Linked DNA regions of Homo sapiens: region 2 is linked to region 1. Evidence: promoter capture Hi-C in human tissues and cell types (Jung and others, 2019). All regions are on one chromosome and are shown on one strand. Each heading gives the region's core, a stretch centred on a gene start or on the middle of the fragment in contact. The rest is flanking DNA. Distances are from core to core; before and after follow the strand shown. Region 1 holds the start of NT5C1A (5'-nucleotidase, cytosolic IA). Region 2 has its middle 3.5 kb from the start of PABPC4.

What was found. Contacts are between HindIII fragments. The study calls those that stand out against the background at their distance.
Region 2: a fragment that was not itself captured here is called in contact with the fragment with the promoter of NT5C1A in region 1 in 4 of the 25 tissues and cell types used here (IMR-90 fibroblasts, lymphoblastoid cells, mesenchymal stem cells and 1 more).

What each region holds. Positions count from the first base shown.
Region 1 is chr1:39,670,534-39,673,558 of GRCh38, reverse strand. NT5C1A (5'-nucleotidase, cytosolic IA) reads left to right here and starts at 1,452. Exons shown (of 6, transcript NM_032526.3): 1 at 1,452-1,655. The coding sequence starts at 1,521. RefSeq lists a silencer at 1,260-1,669. The HindIII fragment of the contact is 3,595 bases long and covers 1-3,025 here.
Region 2 is chr1:39,578,587-39,581,977 of GRCh38, reverse strand. No RefSeq gene overlaps it. Among named protein-coding and RNA genes, the nearest start is that of PABPC4, 3.5 kb to the right of the region's middle. The HindIII fragment of the contact is 4,000 bases long and covers 1-3,391 here.

The sequences.
Region 1 (3,025 bases), core at 203-2,702:
TATCCTCCAGGTCCTATCTGTCTCACTACGTGGCCTTTCCAGCAGGATAGTCCAGACTTATTTACATAGTAGCTGGCTCCCAAGAGGGCAAAAATGGAATCTGCAAGGCCTCTTAAGACGTAAGCTTGGAAACCACAGAGCACCACTTCTACTCCATTCAATTGGTCAAAGCAAGTCACAGGGCCAGCTCAGACTGGACTCCACCTCTGAATGGGAGGAATGTCAAAGTCACATTTCCAAAGGACAGGCAGGATGGAAGAGGTTTTTGGGCCATCTCTGGAAACAATCTTCTAGAAGTAAGTCTAAACACACTTCCCCCAATCCTAACATTTTATTATGATTTTTCCCTTCCTCCCACACAAGGGTTGGTTTATTCCTCCCAGGACCTGGTGGAGGCTGAGGGGATCACTCCATTCTGTAGCCCCCTCACCTCCCCAGTCAGAGGCCCTCCTAGCTAAGCCAGTGTTTTCTCCTGCTTCTCCCACCCACCCATGCACACCTCTGAGAGAGGCTGTCTGCTTCCTGGCCTGTACCTTGGGATGGGTGACATTTGTGTCTGCACCCTGAGACTAGTACAGAGCTCTGCATCAAGAGGGACAACACCCTGGAATTCCAGGATGGTAGTTCCGAGGCCCCTCTTCTGCCCTCCCTCTATCCAGCCCCTTCATGGCCTATAACAAATCACCCCAAGCTGGGCAGGTGGGGGCCTAGGAATGCGCGCCCTCTGCTGACCACCAAAGGGCCAGCAAGAATTCGGGTTCAGAGTCCCTGGGAGTCTCTCTGGCCTGGGTCCCCACCCCAGGCCAAGGTCTCGACCTGAGACCACCCGAGCCTGGTCTCAACATGGACTTCAAGGGCCCCTCCTAGGTGGTGTGGAGGAGCTGCCGGGTTGGGCCCTTCACTGAGCTCCCGCTGGGAGCAGGCTTCTGCTAGTGAGAGGAGCCATCCATGCATCACCTCCTGCCCGTCTGCCGGATGGACTGGCCTCGGAGGGAAGGGGACATCGTCAGGATCCCAGGGTCCTAGCTCCTAAAGGAAAGATGGGCAGCTAGCTTTTGGGAGGGGAGCGGCTAGCTTTTCATTTTGTCCTTTGGGGATCACTATCCTGGGGGAAAAAAAAAGTTGTCAGGCCTCTCCTGTCTCCGCGCCCTGCAGCGCCTGCGAAGAACATCATTTTCGCAATCCCCAATCCGCTGCAGCCCACAAACCCAGAGAGCCAGAGAGCCCCCCTCACCACCCAACCGGCTGCTGGCGTGGGTCGGTCGGGGAAGGAGAGCCCAGCTATCCCTCATACCGTACAGCAGTAGCAGCAGCAGCGGCAGCGACACACGGGCGACCGAGAGGGCCAGTGTGACCTCCCCCCGCCCGGCGGGCGGGGAGCCCAGCTCACACGCACAGCCTCCTCGCCGCTGCCCGCCCCCTTCCCTCGCCGGGACTCGCCTCCCTCCTGCAGCCCAGCCCCAGCCACCTCCGCGTCTACGCCGCCGCCTGCTCTGGCCGGGCCGGGTCAGAGCCGGAGCATGGAACCTGGGCAGCCCCGGGAGCCCCAGGAGCCCCGCGAGCCCGGGCCAGGAGCGGAGACCGCTGCGGCCCCGGTCTGGGAGGAAGCCAAGATTTTCTACGACAACCTCGCGCCCAAGAAGAAACCCAAATCGGTAAAAGCAATGCACGGGTATGCGGGGGACGGGGGAAGGGTTACCCCGGAGGAGGGGTCATAAGTCTCTTGGGAAGGGACCCGTGGCGCCCCTCTGGGAGGGGACGCAGCTCCTCAGCCCCAGAATGCGCCCTGCAGCTGGCGCGGGCTCGGGTTTATTTTGGGAGCTCTGCTCTGGTGTATTTTTTTACCGGGACTCGGGTTCCACGCCAGGCTCCCCCTCCCCCATGCTGTCATCAGGGCCCAGCTAGAGGCCCGCAGCCCCAGCCCCTCCCCACTCGGGCCGCCGGGGAGCGCGGATTGCACTTGTTGGCGAAGCTGGTCCGCAGCGCTTCCAGAAGCGCCCCAGGCGCGGGTAACCAGACTTTGGGAACCCGGTTCCTGGCTGTGCGCTCCGGTCTCCGCCATCTGGGCATCGGGCTCCGGACCTGAGACTCTGCGTTTGGGGTCTGGCTCTGGGTCCTGGGCCCTGGGCTGGGGGCAGTGCGCTCCCCGCGTCCTAAGGAAAGGGAGCTGCTCTCTCCAGGCACTGGGATCCACACTCTGCGCTGGGGGGCGATCGGCGCCCCTGGCCGCAGGCTCCCAGCGCTGGACTCTGCCCCCCAGCTCGGGTTCTGCTCCCCTTGCAGTGGGCATTAACATCCCCACGACCCTGTGGTGGTGTCAACCGTCTGGGACCTCACAGAGGAGCTCTCTCCTCTCTGCCATCAAACAAGTTGATGATGCCCTGGTCTGCCCCTGGACCTTGCTGTCTCCAACTTCCCAGATCTCAGAGCTTGAGGAGAAAACCGAGAATAGAGGTTGGCCCACAGCGGTCCTCCAAAGAGCTCCAGCTTGATCTTAAAGCAATTTGCTGCTTCCCTCCAAGAACCCTTCCCCAACAGGTCCACCCTATCAGCAATCATTCAATTAGCACCTCCAAGCTCTGCTCAAGAGTGGGGATTGAAGAATTAAATAACCTGAGTCCCTGCCTCAGGAGCTCACTGCACAATGATGGAGGCTCCAGAGATGAGAGCCTAGGGGAGTTGGGGGGGGAGTAGAGTAGTGACATCACACTGGGGAAAGCTTTGTAGAAGTGGCACGTATCCTGATCTTAAAGCCTGAGTAGGTGGAGTTTCCCAGGGAGAGGGAAACAGGACAGGCAAAAGTCATGCAGATGTCTCTGAAGCTCAGGACTGTGTTCCTGAATAAGTACTGAATGAAGAATGCAGGATTGTTGGAAGAAGAGCTGGAGGGATGTGGAAGAGCCCACAGAGGGCCTTGGGGATCATGTTAAGGAGTCTGGACCTTACTCAAGGGGGTCAGGGATTTCCAAACTAGCTTCCCCAAGCCCCATGTTTCAGGGAGTCTGCACACATGTGAATCCAATTT
Region 2 (3,391 bases), core at 424-2,923, 92 kb after region 1:
TGAGGATAAAATCCTAAGTGTTTTAAGGCCATCTCTTTCATTTCCCACAACTCCACAGTTTGTCTCCCTTAGGGCTTTTTTTTTTTTTTCAGACAGAGTCTCTCTCAGTCGCCCAGGCTGGAGTGCAGTGGCACAACCTTGGCTCACTGCAACCTCTGCCTCCCGGATTCACATGATTCTCCTCCCTCAGCCTCCCAAGTAGCTGGGATTATAGGCACCTGCCACCACATCCGGCTAATTTTCTATTTTTAGTAGAGACGGGGTTTTACCATGTTGGTCAGGCTGGTCTCAAACTCCTGACCTCAGGTGATCTGCTCTCCTTGGCCTCCCAAAGTGCTGGAATTACAGGCAATTACAGGCGGCAGCCACCACGCCTGGCACTTAGGGCCTTTATAGATGCTGTTCTCCCTGACTTCATTTAGGGACTCCCCTCCTTTCTTTTTATTTTACTTTTTTTTTTTTTTTTTGAGACAGAGTTTCACTCCTGTTGCCCAGGCTGGAGTGCAATGGCGCAATCTCGGCTCACCGCAACCTCCACCTCCCCGGTTCAAGTGATTCTCCAGCCTCAGCCTCTGGAGTAGCTAGGATTACAGGCATGCACCACCACGCCTGGCTAATTTTGTTTTTTTAGTAGAGATGGGGTTTCTCCATGTCCGTCAGTCTGGTATCGAACTCCTGACCTCAGGTGATCTGCCTGCCTCAGCCTCCCAAAGTGCTGGGATTACAGGCGTGAGCCACCGCGCCCGGCCTCCGCCTCCTTTCTTAGTACAAATGTAGCTTGATAGTAATAGCTATTAACATTCATCCAAGGCTGGGCACATGGTGGCTTACACCTGTAATCCCAACACTTTGGGAGACTGAGGTGGGGGCGGATTGCCTGAGCTCAGGAGTTCGCAACCAGGCTGGGCAACATTGTGAAAACCTGTCTCTACTAAAATACAAAAAATTAGCCCAGTGTGGCGATGTATGCCTGTAGTCCCAGCTACTAGGGAGGCTGAGGCAGGAGAATCGCTTGAACCTGAGAGGCAGAGGTTGCAGTGAGCTGAGATCGCACCACTGCATTCCAGCCTGGGCGACAAAGTGAGACATCTCAAAAAAAAAATTAATCCAAACAATTTATGTGTATTTATATGTATTCATTTATTCTCACAATAACCCTTTTAATTGTTAATAAGGTTTATTAGTATAGTTCAGATGAGAAATTTGAGGGTCAGAGATGTGAACTAGCTTGCCCAAAGTAATATAGGTAATAAGCTCCCCCAATAGACAATAAGCTTCAGGAGGTCAGAGCTTGTGTGGGTTTTGCTCATCTGTGCCTAGTATTCATTTGTTTATTTAACAAATATTTAGGCCAGGTGCAGTGGTTTATGCCTGTAATCCCAACACTTTAAGAAGCCAAAGTGGATCGCTTGAGGTCAGGAGTTTGAGGCTGCAGTGAGCTATGATCAGGCCACTGCACTCCAGCCTGGGCAACACAGTGAGACTTTGTTGCTTAAAAAAAAATACATGCAGTGGCTCATGCCTGTAATCCCAGCACTTTGGGAGGCCAAGGTGGGCGGATCACGAGGTCAGGAGATCAAGACCATCCTGGCTAGCACAGTGAAACCCCATCTTTACTAAAAAATACAAAAAATTAGCCGGGCGTGGTAGTGGGCACCTGTGGTCCCAGCTACTCGGGAGGCTGAGGCAGGAGAATGGCGTGAACCCGGGAGGCAGAGCTTGCAGTGAGCCAAGATCGCGCCACTGCACTCCAGCCTGGGCAACAGAGCGAGACCCAGTCTCAAAAAAAACAAAAAAACAAAAAAAAAAATACACAGGCTGGGTGTGTGGCTCACGCCTGTAATCCCAGCACTTGGGGAAGCCGAGACGAATACATCACCTGAGGTCAGCAGTCGGAGACCAGCCTGGGCAACATGGTGAAATCCCATCTCTACTGAAAATACAAAAAGTAGCTGGGCATAGTGGTGGGTGCCTGTAATTCCAGCTACTTGGGAGGCTGAGGCAGGAGAATCACTTGAATCCGGGAGGTGGCGGTTGCAGTGAGCCGACATCACGCCACTGCACTCCAGCCTGGGTGACAGAGCAAGTCTCTGTCTCAAAAAAAAAAAAAAAAAAAAAAAGGCTGGGCGTGGTGGCTCACCCCTGTAATCCCAGCACTTTGGGAGGCCGAGGCGGGCAGATTACAAGGTCAAGAGATTGAGACCATCCTGGCCAACATGGTGAAACCCCATCTCTACTAAAAATACAAAAATTAGCCAGGTGTGGTGGCACGCACCTGTAGTCCCAGCTACTCGGGAGGCTGAGGCAGGAGAATTGCTTGAATCCGGGAGGCGGAAGTTGCAGTGAGCCTAGATCGCAGTACTGCACTCCAGCCTGCCAATAGAGCGAGAGTTGGTTTCAAAAAAAAAAATAGCCAGGTGTGGTGGCGCATGCCTGCAATCCCAGCTACTTGGGAGGCTGAGGCATGAGAATTGCTTGAACCTGGGAGGCAGAGGTTGCAGTGAGCCGAGACTGCACCACTGCACTCCAGCCTCGGTGACAGAGGAAGATTTCATACCCCCCCCACAAAAAAAACAAGAAAACACACACACACACACACACACACACACACACACACACAAACATATATTGAATATTTATTTATCTATTTATTTTTTAGTAACAGAGTCTCACTCTGTTGCTCAGCCTGGAGTGCAGCGACATGATCATAGCTCACTACAGCCTTCAACTCCTGGCCTCAAGCGATCCTCCTACCTCAGACTCCCAAGTAGCTGAGACCACAGGCATGTGTCCCCACACCCAGCCAATTAAAAGAAAATTTTTTTTTGTAGAGATAGGGTCTCACTCTGTTGCCCAGGCTGGTTTCAAATGTCTGGGCTCAAGCGATCCTCCTGCCTCAGCCTCCCAAAGCACTGAGAGTATAGGTGTGAGCCACCTGCCTGGCCAGTTACTGAACATTTAGTACGTGCTATGTTAAGCACTATTCTAGATTCCTGTTCTCATGAAGCTTATATACCAATGTGGAAAAGATAGATACTAAACAGGTAAACAGATATAGAACAACATAATTTTGGGTAGGAATAACAGGCTTGAAGACAAGAAGACAAGTTGGTGTGATAGTGATTAACAATGTTGACGGCTACTTTAGACCACAGGAGGTCTAGGAAGACTTTCCTGAGGAGGGAATCTATAGAAGGAGCACTCCCATAAATGTTCCTTTTTTTTTGAGACGGAGTCTCGCTCTGTCACCCAGGCTGGAGTGCAGTAGCATGATCTCAGCTTACTGCAACCGCTGCCTCCTGGGTTCCAGCGATTCTCCTGCCTCAGCCTTCCAAGTAGCTGGGACTATAGGCACGTGCCATCATGCCCGGCTAATTTTGTATTTTTAGTA